2 separate regions of the Homo sapiens genome follow, and region 2 is linked to region 1. Evidence: promoter capture Hi-C in 16 types of primary human blood cells and fetal thymus (Javierre and others, 2016). All regions are on one chromosome and are shown on one strand. The core of a region is centred on a gene start or on the middle of the fragment in contact, and the rest is flanking DNA. Distances in the headings are between cores, read along the strand shown.

What was found. The method cuts DNA at HindIII sites, captures the fragments that hold promoters and counts their contacts. A CHiCAGO score of 5 or more calls a contact.
Region 2: the fragment with the promoter of RNF19B here is called in contact with the fragment with the promoter of SYNC in region 1 in 2 of 17 cell types (naive CD8 T cells and M1 macrophages); the score reaches 6.0 in naive CD8 T cells.

What each region holds. Positions count from the first base shown.
Region 1 is chr1:32,700,917-32,705,737 of GRCh38, reverse strand. It overlaps SYNC (syncoilin, intermediate filament protein), which reads left to right and starts at 2,968. Exons shown (of 5, transcript NM_030786.3): 1 at 2,968-3,130. The coding sequence starts at 3,078. RefSeq lists silencers at 2,419-2,508, 2,559-2,608 and enhancers at 1,969-2,734, 2,735-3,500. The HindIII fragment of the contact is 11,042 bases long and covers 1-4,821 here.
Region 2 is chr1:32,962,222-32,967,042 of GRCh38, reverse strand. It overlaps RNF19B (ring finger protein 19B), which reads left to right and starts at 2,234. Exons shown (of 9, transcript NM_001300826.2): 1 at 2,234-2,992. The coding sequence starts at 2,358. RefSeq lists silencers at 1,950-2,519, 2,880-3,089 and an enhancer at 2,135-2,639. The HindIII fragment of the contact is 3,974 bases long and covers 1,279-4,821 here.

The DNA.
Region 1 (4,821 bases), core at 1,719-4,218:
GAGCTGTCCTGGACGCGAGTTCTGCAACCTCTGGGCAAGCCACCTCAGCTGATGCCACGTGAAGCAGAAATGAGCTGCCTCCACCAAGCCGTGCCCAAATCACAGATCTGTGGGTAAAATAAATGATTGTTATTATTATAAAAAACAAAAACAAACAATTTTTTTAAGGTCCTACTATGTGGTAGTCCCTGTGCTGGGCTCTGGAGACACAGCAGTAAACAAGACACATAAAGTCTCTGCCCTCATGGGGCTTCCATTCTAGTGGGGAAGCAGAGAAGAAAATAATTGAAAATGAATAGTATTGGCCGGGAGCGGTGGCTCATGCCTGCAATCCCAGCACTTTGGGAGGCCGAGATGGGCGAATCACGAGGTCAGGAAATCGAGACCATCCTGGCTAACACGGTGAAACCCCGTCTCTACTAAAAATACAAAAAAATTAGCTGGGCATGATTGCAGGCACCTGTAGTCCCAGCTACTCCGGAGGCTGAGGCAGGAGAATGGCCTGAACCCAGGAGGCGGAGCTTGCAGTGAGCTGAGATTGCACCACTGCACTCCAGCTTGGGCAACAGAGTGAGACTCCGTCTCAAAAAAAAAAGAAAGAAAATGAATAGTATTGTTGCAGATTGATAAGTGCTGCACAGAAAATAAACAGGGTGACAGGGATAAACAGTAAATGGGGTGAGGCATGGTGGCTCCTGCTTGTAATCCCAGCACTTTGGGAGGCTGAGTCTGGAGGATCCCTTGAGGCCAGGAGTTTGAGATCAGCCTTAACAACATAGTGAGACCCCATCTCTATTAAATAAAATTTTACAAAACCCAACAAAACAAAAAAGCCCATAACAAAAAAATAAATGGGTGGACATTATGGGCAGGGGGTGGGGAGGCATCAGAGAAGGCCTCTGTGAGATGTGATCTGAGACCTGAAGGAGAGTAAAAGGTGGGCTGTGAAGAGCTGGAAAGGGTTTTCTAGGCAGAGGGAGCAGCAGAAAAGGCCTGGCTGGGTGTGGTGGCTCACTCCTGTAATCCCAGCACTTTGGGAGGCTGAGGTAGGAGGACTGCTTGAGCCTAGGAGTTTGAGACCAGCCTAGGCAACACAGTGAGACCTCGTCTTTACAAAAAATACAAAAATTATCCAGGTGTGGTGGTGTGCATCTGTAGTTCCAGCTACTCGGGAGGCTGAGATGGGAGGATCACCTGAGCCCAGGAGGTTGAGGCTGCCGTGAACCATGATTGCACCACCGTACTCCTGCCTGGATGACAGAGTGAGACCCTGACTGCAAGAAACAACAGCAACAAAAAAAACAACAACAAAGGCTTGGAGGTGGGGAAGTTTCTGGGACCCTGGGGAATTCAGGGTTTCAGCCTAAAGAAGCGCTGAGCAGGAGGGTAGGAGCGGGTCAGAAATTCAGTCCTAGGGACAGCCTAAGGCCAGGTCCTGGGCTGGGGGTTGGAGGGGCAGAGCCAGCTCTTCTGAATGCCACCCTTGCCGCCTGTTGCTTGGTACCACAGCAAACAGAGCCTCTGGCAGGCCTGCCCTTGCTGCCTTAGCTCTCCTCTGGCGGGCAGCAGATGTCAAATGCCCAGCAGCTGAGGCTTCGCCAGCCTCCTCCCCTGGAATAGTTCGGGGGTAAGTCAGAAAATGACCAGCAGCCTCAAAACCTGGCTTTTTCTCGTGCGTACCTTACAAGGGTATATTTGGCTGCCCTGGGTGTTAAATCTTCCACCCCCTTGCATTAGACAGAGAAATATAAATATACAGCCACAGGCAGCACACTCAGACGCGAGGATGAATGAACATTTATCAACCCCCAGTCACGCACAAGCACACAGTCAGAGTCACAAGCGGGACCATATGCATGCCCCCCACACAGAGTCAAAACCGCCAGCCCCACAAAGACACTCCACCATGGCACAATCACCACACACATTCACCCTGAGATCACACAATCACACATCCACATGCTCACACACAGACATGTACCCCACAATCACCGCAGAGTCACACAGGGGCACACAAGCCCACACACATTCAACACCACGGCATGCTTCCCCCACCGGCCTCCCAGGCACCCCAGCCCCTGGGGCTTGTTATGGTGCCAGCATTCTTCTGCGATTGAGTCAAAGACCTCCCCAGACAGGGTAGCTAAGTGGAAAAAGGAATCCGAAGGAAGAACGCCTGAAGCCCAGGTCTGGGAAGGGGCCCAGCAGCTTCTCTCTTGGGGAGAAAGACGTCAGTGCTGGTTTGACCCTCACACTAGTGGGCTGAGGACGTGGGGGGAGGTATGTCTTGAAGTTGACAGAAGTGGGCTGAGTGGGGTGACAGGTGGAGCAGGAGAGAGACCCCAGGAAGCCTCAAAGGGTGGGGCAGAAAGTGGGGTTAAATATGGACTCAATGTGATAGGCGTAAACTCCTCCGCAGTTCTCTCTAACCCCAGCCACCCAGCCCGCCCCCAGGCTCCAGGCTGTCCCCAAACGCGCGGGGTGTGGCCGTGAACCCTCCTCCCCGGCCGCGCCCTGCCCCGCCCTTCACGACAGCTGCCGGGGACAGCCCGGAGTGCCCAGAGGGTGGCTGCGGCCCTTCCCCTCTTGGGTGGGGACCAGAGGGCGCTGAGCGGCAGCGGACACCCCCAAACACTCGCGGGAGAGGGGTGCTGGCTCCCTTTGAGCAGCCCGCCCAACCCTGCCTCCACCCTCCCAGGCTGGACAGGGAAGGTGCTCCCTGGGGCTTCAGACCCCCCTTCTGACTCCCCCTGCAACGGGACCTCACGAAAGGAAGGGTGGAGAGAAGGTTCGGGAAGACGAGGGGGCTGGGAGGTTTGGAAAGACAGCTCCAGGCCCCCGTTCCCACCCCCGCCCCAGGCTGGTCCGGGAGGGGCAGCCTCTCCCCGCCCCCAGGTCCGCGCGGCCGCTCCCTCCTCCCCCGGCAGGAGCCCCGGCCAAGTGGGCGCGCCCGGCCCGGGGCCGGCCGGGATCCGGTGTCGGTTGCAGCTGGCAGTGCGGCGGGCGCGGGCGCCGGAGCGAGGGGCCCGCGGGCCCGGCTATTAATAACGCGGCCGCCAGCCCGGGGTCGCGCAGCCATGGCCAGCCCGGAGCCCCGGCGCGGCGGGGACGGCGCCGCCCAGGCCGCGAGGTAGGACAGTGCCGGGCCCGCGTCGCCGCCCCGCTGGGGAAGGGGTGCTGCTGGACGGGTTCCCTTTCCCCCCGACCGCGGGCGTCTTTCGCCTGTCTAGGGGTAGTGGTCCAGCCGGGGTGGGGCACTGGAGCCGCCTCGTGAGGGGACATCGGGGAGTCGGGCCGTCCCGGGGTCCTGGCACCTCCGTTTGTCTGTGGCTTTTTATAATACCCCTCCCCCTCCCGGGACTACATGAAAATTAACCCTTCCAGGCGAGTGGGCATCCACCGCTCAAGTGCCATTTGGCCCATAGCAGCCAAAGACACTTCTCGCTAGCCTTCATTCCTCCCTGCAAATGTCAGTTGGAGACAGAGGCCTCCCCTGCTGAAGTGGCTGTGTGGAAGCCACTTGGTGCAAGGCTGGGCATCTGCCAGCTTGAAGTTAAGAGTCTGTCAGGGCTTGTTCTCTCCCGTCTGGCCTGGGATGGGTGGGGGAAGGGTCCAGGGGCCCTCCCCACTATCCCTCCTGGCAGGGCACGGCTGATTATTGGGGGAAGGGACCTGTGGCTGAGGGGTTTGGGGTGAGGTGTATTTCTGTCCCAGGTCATACTGTGGCTCTGGGACTTCCCAGTGTACCAAGAGGTGAGGGTGCAAATACATAGCTCCCGACACCCCTTCACTGTCACACAGGGGCACAAAGCTGAGCGGTCTTACACACACACACTCACCCATACTGCTGTCCACACCTACAGCTACAGTCAGACACACGGACTCTTGCCTGCACAATGTCACATGGACTCCCAGCCACATCCCTGAACAGGGTTGGAGAGCTCTGCGGTTCTCTGGGGACAGGGACAGAGTGGCAGAGGCAGGCTGCCCAGGGCCCAAGGAAGCCCGAGGTCAGGGGCCCCAACTAAGCTGGCTTCCTCTCCTCTGAGCCTCCTGTCATCTGCTTCTTTCCCTCCTCTCTCTGTTTAAAAGAGGCGGCTGTGTGAGGGCAGCACCCAGCAGAGGCCTGGCACCATGGGTGGGGTGGTGGAGGCAGCACGATGTGTGCTAACAGCACAGCTTGGAGGTCAGGAGGCCTGGGTTTTACTTCCAGCTTTGCCATTCGACCTTGGGCAGATTTCCTCCTTGGAGTTCATCTGGTTTCTGCCTGTCTGCCCTTACAGAGCCCCACCCTAGGATATAGAGCAGAATGAGAACTCTGCTTGTCCTTAGGAAACTCACTATCAGGGAGACAGACACATGTACTTCTGTAACTGGAGCAATAAGTGTGAAGATGTGCTGCATACAGAGTGCCCTGAGAACACACATGGGGCTGTCTGGGAGATACTTTACGGAAGAGATGAAGTTTGAGCAGGGCTTGAAGGATGAGTAGAAATTTGTTAGATAGATAGAAGTATATTGTGGGCCCGGCGCGGTGGCTCACGCCTGTAATCCCAGCACTTTGGGACGCCGAGGTGTGCGGATCACCTGAGGTCAGGAGTTCAAGACCAGCCCGGCCAACATGGTGAAACCCGGCTCTACTAAAAATACAAAAATTAGCCAGGCGTGGTGGCGTGTGCCTGTAATCCCAGTTACTTGGGAGGCTGAGACAGGAGACTTGCTTGAACCCAGGAGGCAGAGGCTGCAGTGAGCGGAGATTACACCATTGCACTCCAGCCTGGGCAACAAGAGTGAAACTCCATCTCAAAAAAAAAAAAAGTA
Region 2 (4,821 bases), core at 985-3,484, 260 kb before region 1:
TGCTTAGTTTTTCTTTTATGTCACTGGCCCCCGCTTTTCAGTTTTCTTTGTTGGCTCCCCTTCTTGTTTTATGTCAAAAGTTTGAAGTTCTGGAGACCTGGTTTAAAATATCACAGCTGGTTTCCACCTTTTGAGACGATGTCTTTTTGTGTCACCCAGGCTGGAGTGCAGTGGCATAATCACGGCTCACTGCAGTCTCAACCTCCCAGGCTCAAGCATTCCTCCCACCTCAGTCTCCCAAGTAGCGGGGACTACAGGCACACTCCATCACACCCAGATAATTTTTGTATTTTTTGTAGAGATGGGGTTTTGCCATGTTGCTCAAGCTGGTCTCAAACTCCTGGGCTTAAGAGATTCACCAGCCTAGGTCTCCCAAAGTGTTGTAATTACAGGTGCGAGCCACAGCTCCTGGCCCATCTTACCATTCCTTATTAATAACAGAGCACTCATTGTTAGCTGGGCACATTGTACCCAGTTAAGAGAATGTTTCCCAGGCTCCCTTGCAGCTGAGTATGGCCATGTGAGTGAGTATGTTTTGGCAAAAATGTGCGGGACTTTCGAGGCAGTCCTTTTTTCTTTCTTTCTTTTTCTTTTTCTTTTTTTTTTTTTTTTGAGACAGAGTCTCGCTCTGTCGCCCAGGATGGAGTGCAGCGGCGCGATCTCGGCTCACTGCAACCTCCGCCTCCTGGGTTCACGCCATTCTCCTGCCTCAGCCTCTCGAGTTGCTGGGATTACAGGCGCCCGCCACCACGCCCGGCTAATTTTTTATATTTTTAGTAGAGACGGGATTTCACTGTGTTAGCCAGGATGGTCTCCATCTCCTGACCTCGTGATCCGCCAGCCTGGGCCTCCCAAAGTGCTGGGATTACAGGCGTGAGCCTCCGCGCCCAGCCCCAAGGCAGTCTTCTTAAAAGGAAGAGGATGCATCTTTCTTCCCTTTTTCCTTCCCACTGTTTGGAATATGGACCATAGTGAGGTGACCTTAACACTGGAAGCCAAATACTGAGGATGGCTGAACAGCCCTGAACTGCCTACTTTTGGACTTATATTTCATGGAAAGAGAGAAATTTCTGGCTAGGTGCAGCGGCTCATGCCTGTAATCCCAGCACTTTGAGAGGCCAAGGCAGGAGGATCGCTTGAGCCCAGGAGCTCGAGACCAGCCTGAGCAACACAGGGAGATTTCATCTCCATGAAAAAAATAAAAATAATAGGCAGGCCTGGTGGCGCACCTGTGCTCCCAGCTACTCCAGAGGTTGGGGTGGGAGGATCGCTTAAGCTTGGGAGGTTGAGGCTTCAGTGAGCTGTGATCACGCCACTGCACTCCAACCTGGGTGACAGAGCAAAACCGTCTCAGGAAAAAAAATAAATAAATTTCAATCGTAAGCTATTTTTTTCTTTTGTTATTTGCAATTGAATGTAATCCTGATACATTCCTGTTGTTGAAGCTGTTTGCCTGCCTCCCACTAGGAAGCCTAAGGGTCCAGATCCTCCCCCAGTCAGAGGAATGGGGAACTAGAAAAAGAAAGGCAAAGGCACTGCCAGGCAAGAAAACGCTGGGTCTCCTTCCACAAGTTTGGTAAGTAAGCAAGATACCAGGAGGATAGAATGGTAAGTGAGCCTAGAAATAGACTATTATATACATAGGGTTTATTAAATACATAGAGAACACTGAATGCTAGACTAAGAAATTTGGACTTTATTCTGGAAGTCCCTTGCAATAGGGGACCTTGTCTGTTTTATTTTCTAATGCCTCGCACTTTGTAGAAGCTCAGTGAATGAATATATTCTTTATTAATTTATGCCGTCTGCTTAATAAACAGAAATGTTGGAAGGTGAACCAGTTGGGAGTCACCATCTGATCAACCCCTGCCTGCTTTTTATAAATAATGTAACTGAACCATCATTTACTGGAAGTGGCAATCAACCTGTGAGGAACGGCAAACCAAAAAGTCCACCTTGGGTGTCATGGTGATGGAATTGGAGGCGGAGACCAGGGAGAGCAGCGGGCTAGGATCTCTGAGAGTCTCCGCAACATGGCGGCCCTGGAACCACCTGACCGGCAGGAGGCGGAGCTCCGCCCCAGCTCGCTCGGCCCCACCCCGCTCGGCCCTGCCCAGCGCACTCCTAGACCGGGGCGCAAGGGTTGTGAGGTGTTTGAGCGAAGCGCCTGCGCAGGGCAGCGGCGCGCGGGGCGGAGGCTTTATAATCACTTCGTCGTTGCCGCTCGGCTTCTATCGCCGGGAGGGCGGTTGAGGCGGTGGTGGCGGCGTCGGCGGCGGCCGGGCGCTGGCTGAGGGGCGCTGAGGCGGGAGCTGTGGCGGCGCTGGGCGCCCCTGGCTCCTCGGCCTCTGCCGGCCATGGGCTCCGAGAAGGACTCCGAGTCGCCGCGCTCCACATCGCTACATGCGGCCGCACCCGACCCTAAGTGCCGCAGCGGCGGCCGGCGCCGGCGCCTCACCTTGCACAGCGTCTTCTCTGCCTCGGCCCGCGGCCGCCGCGCCCGGGCCAAGCCGCAGGCCGAGCCGCCGCCCCCGGCTGCGCAGCCGCCGCCCGCCCCGGCCCCTGCCGCGGCCCAGGGCCCGCCGCCCGAGGCGCTGCCCGCCGAGCCGGCCGCCGAGGCCGAGGCGGAGGCCGCGGCGGCGGCGGCGGAGCCTGGGTTCGACGATGAGGAGGCGGCGGAGGGCGGTGGCCCGGGCGCGGAGGAGGTGGAGTGTCCGCTGTGCCTGGTGCGGCTGCCGCCTGAGCGGGCCCCGCGCCTCCTCAGCTGTCCGCACCGCTCGTGCCGGGACTGCCTCCGCCACTACCTGCGCCTGGAGATAAGCGAGAGCAGGGTGCCCATCAGCTGCCCCGAGTGCAGCGAGCGACTCAACCCGCACGACATCCGCTTGCTGCTCGCCGACCCGCCGCTTATGCACAAGTACGAGGAGTTCATGCTGCGCCGCTACCTAGCCTCGGACCCCGACTGCCGCTGGTGCCCGGCCCCGGACTGCGGGTGAGCGCGGGGGCGTGGCGCGGGTGGCGGCGGGCTGCAGCCGAGGGGCGTGGCTGGGGGCAGCAGGGACCCCGCGTGGGTGTCCCAAGCAGGGAAACCCGCAAGGCGGCAGCTTCGGCGGGGTGGTAACCATCAGGCAAGCCCAGACTAGTGGTGTGAACGCACCCGACACCCCGCCCCCTGCCCCAGGGCTCGAGGTGGCTGCTAAGCATTCGGTGAGGGGAAGGGAGCTGTCCAAGTTAGGAGACAGGGAGAGGCGGTTTTTTTGTTGGGGGAATGCCCTCTGTCCGGAGGTGAGGACAGTATCTTTTTTTTTTTTTCTTTTTTTTTTTGGAGACGGAGTCTCGCCCTGCCGCCCAGGCTGGAGTGCAATGGCGCGATCTCGGCTCACTGCAACCTCCGCCTCTCAGGTTCAAGCGATTCTCCTGCCTCAGCCTCCCGAGTAGCTGGGATTACAGGCGCCCGCCACCACACCCGGCTAATTTCTTTGTATTTTTAGTAGAGATGGGGTTTCACCATGTTGGCTAGGCTGGTCTCGAACTCCTGACCTCAGGTGATCCTCCTGCCTCGGCCTCCCAAAGTGCTGGGATTACAGGCGTGAGCCACCGCTCCCGGCCAAGGTGGGGAGTATCTCTTAATGAGAGTGGGGAGGGGATATTTGGCCAAGGAGGGAATGAGAATATTCTGAGGGGGCAGCGCGTCGGAGGGGTGTGTCCACTTGGCTAGGGACAGACTTAGCATTGCAGAAGAAGGCGTGTTCTCCCTGACAACCACCGCTGAAAGTTGGGATGGAGGTGACTGGGGAATAGGCTCTCGGGTACCCTGAGCACTATGTGTTCTGTGCCACGCTATCGGGAGGCACTCTGTCGTTCTTACCTTGCTGCCTTGGGTAGGGTGAGGGGTAGACAGATATGTTCTTTGTCCAGAGTCTCAATGGGGGCACTGAGAAGAATGCCCAGAGGTTGGTGTGATAGGAGAAATTGTGTTTCTGAACCCCTTTGATCTTGAGTTCTTGATGACAGTCTTTTTAATGCACCATGTAGGCTGAATTTTAAAGGGCAGTAAATTAAAATATGCAATATCTGCAGAGACATAATACACCAGATTTTGCTATCTGAAGCATTCAGTGGAGACCTTCCTCGCCCTCCCCGCCTTTAGAAGTCTAATTGTTACTGTCAGTATATCCCATGAAGGGGTTGCACGCAGGAAGAGGGGCTCATTTAAGTAGTTGGGAGTCAGACAGCCATTACCTGTTCTGTGACCTTGGGCAGATAATTTTATTCTTGTGTGTCATGTTTTGGCGACAAAAAGATGCTGGGGAGTCCTTGCAGTGTGTAAACGTAATGCTAGTAAAAAGTTGTGTGATCTTTAGCTTCAAAGGAGTTAAGGACTTTTAATTGTAGCCTATATATCAAGGTGGTTTTGAAATCTCCATGATGCTGCTGGTTGTCTCCTTTCAAAAGGAGCTGTCTTAGAGTGTCTAGGAGAGTAAGAAGAGTTAACTTCTGTTTTTAATTCTGCCAAACTTGTTTAGAAATGGGTGTGCTATTTAACCTCACTGAGATGGGGTTTCTAAATTACTTTGAAGTGTTGTGGTCAAAGGAATGGTGTTTATGGTGGCTCACTTTCACTTTCAGTTAATAAGTATCAGGAAGGACCTTTTAGGTTCATGGAACTGTCTATGTCTAGTGATCTTACTGGCCCTCTGAGGTTAATTTATATTAAAGTTTTACAGATACTGTTGATCTGTTTTCTTAACCAAACGAATATTAAGAGAACACAGGCCAGGCTCGGTGGCTCACGCCTATAGTCCTAGCATTCTGGGAGAC